2 separate regions of the Homo sapiens genome follow, and region 2 is linked to region 1. The links are contacts of gene promoters, found by promoter capture Hi-C in blood cells and fetal thymus (Javierre and others, 2016). All regions are on one chromosome and are shown on one strand. The core of a region is centred on a gene start or on the middle of the fragment in contact, and the rest is flanking DNA. Distances in the headings are between cores, read along the strand shown.

What was found. The method cuts DNA at HindIII sites, captures the fragments that hold promoters and counts their contacts. A CHiCAGO score of 5 or more calls a contact.
Region 2: a contact is called between a fragment that was not itself captured here and the fragment with the promoter of ZNF772 in region 1, in 1 of 17 cell types (fetal thymus). The highest score is 5.2, in fetal thymus.

Annotation. Positions count from the first base shown.
Region 1 is chr19:57,475,990-57,479,755 of GRCh38, reverse strand. It overlaps ZNF772 (zinc finger protein 772), which reads left to right and starts at 2,190. Exons shown (of 4, transcript NM_001144068.2): 1 at 2,190-2,479; 2 at 3,084-3,122. The coding sequence starts at 2,447. RefSeq lists enhancers at 1,676-2,875, 2,466-2,989. The HindIII fragment of the contact is 1,804 bases long and covers 732-2,535 here.
Region 2 is chr19:58,199,920-58,203,685 of GRCh38, reverse strand. All of the region lies in intron 4 of ZNF274 (zinc finger protein 274), which reads right to left. Among named protein-coding and RNA genes, the nearest start is that of ZNF274, 19 kb to the right of the region's middle. The HindIII fragment of the contact is 4,047 bases long and covers 1-3,766 here.

The DNA of each region.
Region 1 (3,766 bases), core at 941-3,440:
ATATGGACATTATTAAATGTAAATTATTGTCATCCTTATCCCACCCCTGTATGAATAACCAGAAGATGCTGATGATATGCAGTTCCCTGATGACATCTCAGCCCAGTTGGGTGAGTCAAGGGCCTGGTAACCTTCAAGCGTAGGTCTTGGTTTCTCTAAAGCAGATTTTGGACGTTTCTAACTACAACATGATTCTTTTCTTACTGACAGAGTAGGGAGTCTGGGAATGTTAGTTGTGCTTTCAATCACAATTCAAATTCTGTGGAAATTCACTGAAGAAAAGAGAATACCTCGTGAAGCGTGTTTTGGTCCATCAAAAATTACTAACTGCTTATTTGAGTATTTATTGCATAGTCATTTAGGTTTTGCAAAAGTTGTCAAAACCAAAATGAGTAACTTGTGTAAAATAAATAAATAAGTAAATAAATAAATAAAGCCAGGAGGCTGAGAAAAGAGGGCACTCAAACACACATGCTTAAGATAAGAGCTATTACTGTCTCTGAGGGCTCTTAATGCACATATTCCCGTTAAAAGAAGTTTTGACAAGAACTTCTCAAACCGCAGCTTGCTACAGGAGTTACAAGGACAGCTCTAGATGTAGTAGAACACTTGCCTGACAGATTGTCTCCACTAATGAACTGGTGTTAACCTCTGCCATAAACATCTGTGACCAATGTTCTTTTTATCTCAAAACAAATTATATATACTTTTCCCTTTTGCCTTTGAAAGCTTCTCCTTGTTTCAAGCTCTCTGGATATGCCTATAGTCCCTATAGCCTGCATGTCCTGGATTTGCAAATCCCCTGTGCATTCCTGAATGAACTCAACATCTTTGAAGAATCTCTGTTATTTAGGTTGACAGTTTAAATATATCCTACATTGTGCTTTTCTTTGCCTCACTTCTTCCACTTATTTTACTATTATTTTACCTTTCTATTGATTATTTATTTATATTCCAAACATTTCCTCTTCTAGTTTGAAAAGTATATACGCTGACTGTATTTATTATATTTAGGCTAAAAATTACAAACGTTTAACACATTAGCGTGCCATACAGGATTGTAATACATTTGCTTTCCACTTGGAAATATAAAAAATTTAAAACTTTGAGCAACTAGCCTCCTTTCAATTTATATGTAGTTGAGGTTACGCACGGGAATTCCATCATTCTAACTCAATAAGTATATCTACTTATGTTTTACACTGTAATATGCTGTTATTTTAATCAAAAGATGCACTTCTTTTCATCTTCATTTCTTCTCTCATTGCAGACTTTTCACCTGAGATCAACTTTCTTTGGCCTTGAGTATTATTTTAAACATTATTTTTTGTGTAAATGTATTTCCATTACATTTATCATTTTTGGTTTCAAATAGTTTTATATCACACTTCCATAAAAGACATTTTGTTGTGTATAGACATCTAGTTTGGTGGTTATTTCTTCTTTACAGAAAGTGTTCATGTTGCCCTTTTCATTGCCATATGACATTTGATGAATTCTGTCTTTTCAGACACTTGTAAAACACTTAAAATATTGAATACATCTCTGTATATGGAGTATGAAATACTATCTTGAACAAGAGTATTACTTGTTGGGTTTGACACAATCACTGCTGTATAAGCAGGATAAATATTTTCTGAGGTAACAGACAGAAGGGTTATTCACTTACTTCAAGGCCACCAAACATCCCCACTCCACGTTCCACATCATGGTGTCTGGAGTCTTTTCTTTCTTGTGCCTGACAGAAAATGCTGAGGCTCGCCAAACTAACTCTGGAGCATCAGGCTACACGCATTTGAAAACAATATTTGTTAACTTCCAGCCATAGAAATCTGAGTGACGTCAGTGTATGGTGTGTCCATTTTATTTTTTGATGAGCATTCTCTGCGTAAGGAAGGCTGAAATCATGTCTCTAAACATTCCTTTGATGTCAAACACGACGTTCACCAGAAATACAGATATGGCTCCTTCAAGAGGAAGCTAAGCTCCGTCTGGGCCTTGGAGACGAGGGACACCATTTCCACGCGCCCCTGGCGGTCTTCTCTGGGCTTTTAACCTGGAGGTGAAGCGAGACGCCGCTTACTAGTGTTGGTGCCGTGGGAACTACATTACCCAGGAAACTTGGCGGCTCTGGGCCAATGAAAACCCAGGAAATAGGCGTTTCCGTTGGTCCTCACCAACGTCAGGGCGGGACTTCCTCTACCATCCTCGGGTGGACATTTTGTTTGCTTTTCCATTAATCCACTGGTTTAGTTTCCAGAACGCAATGTCAGACCTGAGGTGACAGAAAAGGGAAAACGTGAGAGAGTGTCTTCTTCCCTGAAGAGAGGTGGGCCTGAGGCTTGACAGTGGCGCTGCCTGAGTGACCTAGCCGCTGGGCTGGGCCCTGGACAGCTGATCCCAGGTTCCTGCACTTGTCGCCACCCTTCCGTAGTCCACAGGCCTGATGGCGGCGGCTGAGCCGATGGGCCCGGCACAGGTGGGTGCTGCGTCTGCGAGTCTGCGCGCTGACCCCCATCTCTGAATCCCAAAGCTTCGAATGAACGATTCCTCGGGTTACTGCAGCTCAGGCCCCTGTATCTAGAACAGTGGGGGCGCTCGTGTTTGGGACCCATTTTGACAGCACGAGTTGAAGGACGTTCCAGGCAGAGAGACCAGTGTATGCAAAGGCTCAGAGATGGTTCACAGCTGGAGCATTTGGGAAAACTGGGCCTTTAGTGTCTGAAAGGATCAGAGCGCTTTATAAGTGATTGCACCTGGAATATCATCCTGAGCAGCTGGGTCTCTATTCTGAGGGTGATGGGAGCCATGGAAGGTTCTGAACAGAGGAGAGCCAGAATCCGAGGGTTTAAAAAGTATTCCATAGACTGCTCATGGAGGGCAGACTCTTGTTGGCCATGGGGGCGGATAATGAGCACTGTTCCGAGCTAACACAGTTAAGAGGTATCCTTGAAGATGGAAGCACAGAGGGTAGACATTCAGCTCCCAGGCACATTGTAACTGGGTAGGAATATGGGATGGGGTTGAGCCTTTGGGGTTCCTTCAAGATTGCTTGACTCGCATAGTCTCCCTCTTCCCCACAGGTTCCCATGAACTCAGAAGTAATTGTGGACCCTATACAGGTGAGGGGAGAATGTCCATGCTCTCACCGATCCCACCCCCACCCAATACGCTCTCCAGCATTGTGGTGTTATATAGAACACTCTCCTGCTACTCTCCGATCTCTTGGGTCTGAGGACTCTGGAGAAGCCCCAAGCCCAGGGTCCTGACTCCGGGCCAGGGGTTTTATGGAGGGGTTTCCATTTCTGCCAACCATTGGAATAAGGTTGGAAGGTTGTTCCAGGCACAGGAACCAGCCTGTGCAAAATACTTAGAGGTGAGACTGAGAAGGGAGTTTTCAAGAAATTGCAGGTCTCTGTCATGTCTGGTGGGAACCAAGAGCAAGGGGGCGGGAATCATCCTGAAATGGCTTAAAGATGATTATGTAGATTGGGAGTTAAAAGAGAATATTCATTTCACAGTGGTAGTGCATTTAGTGAGCCAGGAAAGTGATGGTGGAGAGCCAGAGTTGTGAGATAACTGTGATCCAAAGAGTGATGTACATATGGAAAGAAGTGTAGACTGATGACGTCTGGGCTTAAAGGAGAAAGGCAAGCCCATCTTTGGTTGTCTGGTAAGCATGATGTTAGTGACCCCAGAGGAATTTGCTTACAGAAGGGTGAGGCCCTGTATGCTAAGCACAGAGCTTAGAGGGTGACAACTTCTT
Region 2 (3,766 bases), core at 687-3,186, 720 kb before region 1:
GACTTCTGGGGACTTACTTCGCCCCAAGTAACTTTTCTTAATTTGAAAGCATACTTCATTTATTTTCTTTCAATTACAGCGTTTTTTTCTTTTTTTTTTTTTTTTTGAGACGGAGTTTCGCTCTTAGTCGCCCACGCTAGAGTGCAGTGGAGGGATCTCGGCTCACTGCAACCTCCGCCTCCCGGGTTCAAGCAATTCTCCTGCCTCAGCCGCAGCTGGGATTACAGGCGCCCACCGCCAGGCCCAGCTAATTTTTGTATTTTTAGTAGAGACAGGGTTTCGCCATCTTGGCCAGGCTGGTCTCGAACTCCTCACCTCAGGTGATCCGTCCATCTCGGCCTCCCAAAGTGCTGGGATTACAGGTGTGAGCCACCGTGCCCAGCCCAATTACAGCTCTTAAGGCTTGAATTTTTCCTGAGAAGCAGCTGGGGATAAGATTTACTGGAGGCCCAGCAGCACCGGACTAAGTGCCTAGGACATGGGACATGCACCAACTGAATCTGTACTTCCTGGGGGGGGGCTAAGTGGCAGACCAGCACTGGGCCACCAGTACTATTTTAGGTAACCATGCATGACACTTAAACATCTTAAACGTTACTTCATAAATTTCTAAAATTTCATTTTTGTATTCCTTAATCGAGGGATTTTCATGCCTTGGCCCCTAGGAAAACAACTGTTGGATTCTTCTACTCCACCCCACCCCTTTCTAATGTACTTACTTCTGCTTTAATCTTTATTATTAACCCATGAGGCCCCACACTCTGTTCTGTACACAGTTATCATAAAGCACCTTTTGCATGCTGTGGAACCAAGGACACCACAGTGAACAGAGAGACCACAAACCCAGAAACTGGTGAGGAAGTGATGGACTCATTCTGTGCACCTCAGTCCTCCAAATGTCAACCCATAGACTATCCCAAGACCTTTAGGGCAATCCTTACCACTGTCTATTGCAGGAAATTAGCTGCTCCACTTCATGGAGGAGAAAATGGAAGCTCTTAAGTTCACCACCAGGCAGAGGTGGAACTGGATTCTCATTCCACCCATCTCATTCCACAGACATGACTGACCCAACCCACTCATGTGGAGCTGCATAATCCCTATCAGCTGGAGCTCCAAATGGCTTTCAGTCCAGCAACTGAATGAGCCCGTAGCAATGTAGTCACCTCACCTACAACTGTCTGTCTAATGGGTTGTGAAACAAATTCACTGAGGCTCAAAGCAAGGGGTTTAATCAAGAGAGATTAACTTCTTGAGCCTGAGTTTCTTCACCCAAAGTGATGAGATACCAAAGTCCAGGCACAGCATGTGGTAAGGGCTTGATGGGAGCTGCTGCTTTCTCCCTCTTGACACTATTTTCTTCTCTCAGGATACTTCTACCTCTCTGCTGCTTCCCTTCCAGGGTGACAAACAGGCCTTAGGCAGCTGTCTTCCTCACAGTGCTGTTTGCCAGTGAATGCTGATTAGCCAGGTATACCAGTCCAAAATATAACGAAAAGCAATGATCTTTTTAGCAGCTTGTGGGGGAAAAGTCAGAAGAGTACTTACCCTCAGCTCCCCTAATCCCTGGGCACAGTACCCCATCACTTTTCCTCCTTGTCTGGAAAGCTCTCAGCTCTCCTGTTCTCTCTCATCATTCCCTCAGTGCCCCTAAGCTCCCTGTTGGATTACCTTCTGCATCTGTCTCCTCCAGTGTACCACTGAGGCTGCCAACTGGGACTTGTGGATCTCACACCCCTAAGTAGAGGATCTGCCAAAGGCTGCTGATCATCTTTACGTTACTCAGTTTTTGAATCAATGACAGTACCATCATTTCACGAAGGCTGCCCACAGTCCCAGGAAGCAAATGTACACCATACACAAAAGAAATATGCCTGGTGCGGTGACTCATGCCTGTAATCCCAGCACTTTGGGAGGCCGAGGTGGGCAGATCACAAGGTCAGGAGTTTGAGACCAGCCTGGCCAATATGGTGAAACCCCGTCTCTACTAAAAACACAAAAGTTAGCTAGGCGAGGTGGCGGGCACCTGTAGTCCCAGCTACCTGGGAGGCTGAGGCAGGAGAATCACTTGAACCCAGGAGGTGGAGGTTACAGTGAGCTAAGATCACACCACTGCACTCCAGCCTGGGCGACAGTGCAAGACTCCATCTCAGAAAGAAAAAAAAAAAAAAGAAATTCATGCTGGGATAGGCTAGGAACCCTGCCCAGGGTTGCAGAGTGGATGATCCGGTTTGGTTCTGTGTCCCTACCAAATCTCAGGTTGAAAAGTGATGCTGTGTTGGAGGTGGGGCCTGGTGAACCTTCAAGAATGGCTTAGCACCATCCTCCTGGTGGTTAAGTTAATCACACGAGATCTGGTTGTTTAAAAAAGTGTGGCCGGGCAGAATGGCTCACGCCTGTAATCCCAGCACCTTGGGAGGCTGAGGTAGGTGGTTCGCTTGAGCCCAGGAGTTCTAGACCGGCCTGGGCAACATGGCAAAACCCCATCTCCACAAAAAAAAAAAAAAAAAAAAATTAGCCAGGCGTAGCGGCATGTGCCTGTAGTCCTGGCTACTCAGGAAGCTGAGGTGGGAGAATCGCTTGAACTCAGGAAGTCGAGGCTGCAGTGGGTCATGATCGCACCACTGTACTACCGCCTAGGTGAGAGTGAGACCGTGTCTCCAAAAAAAAAAACAAAACAAACAAACAACAGTATGCGGCACCTTCTTCCTCTCTCTGGCTGCTGCTTTTCCCATGATGTGCCTGCTCCCTGCCTTCCACCATGAGTAAAAAGCTCCCTGAGGCCTCCCCAGAAGCCAACCAGATGCCAGTGCCACCCTTGTACAGCCTGCAGAACTGTGAGCCAATTAAATCTCTTATCTTCATAAATAACCCAGTCTCAGGTATTTACAGCAATTTAAGAACGGCCTAACATAGTGGGCAACAAAGGAGCCGGGTTCCAAACCCTGTTATTTCATGTCCTTGACGCTAAAGGGGTCTCCCACAGCCACCATCTTAGTTTTCCTAGAATATGGCCTTTCATCCAGAGATCCACATGTGCACCACCCTCCTGCCTGGTATAGTCTTCCCCAACATCTTCGCCTGGTTCACCTTCCCCAACATCTTCACCTGGTTCGCCTTTCCCATTCAGGTCTGAGCTCAAACGTCACCTCCTCAGAACCATCTTCCTACTTAGTTCTGAACTACTGCTGCCCACCCGTACCTCGCTTGTCCCCCACCAATGTATCCCATTGTTTCCTTCTCTTTCCAACACTCATTACCATCCCAAATATCTGATTCATTAATTTATCATGTCTATCACCCTATCTAGAGCAGTGCTGTCCAATGGAACTTTCTATAAATGAGATGTTCTAGATCTGTACTGTCCAACATAGTAGCATTAGCTGCAGGGCCAATGAGCAGTTGAAAGGTGCCCAGTGCAATTGAGGTACTGAATGGGCAACTTCATTTTTGTTGATCCAATCAGCCATGGAATGGATGTAGGCCCAATGAAAGCAGGTGTAAGACCTGCCCCACTCATCACTGTGATCCAGCCCTGGAACAGTACCTGGAATCCTGGCAAGTGCTCAAGTAATATTTGTTGATTCAACACAGCTTCTTTGCAACATGAAAGCACACATAGTTTGCACCCCACTTGCTTCTTCTCAGCCAAGCCCATGTCAGGGACTTGTATTTCTGGTCCCATGGTAAAATGGCCCCAGCAGCATTTCTCCAGAGGTTGATGGCTAGAATGACTTCAGGACTCAGGAAAAGGACATCAGTACTT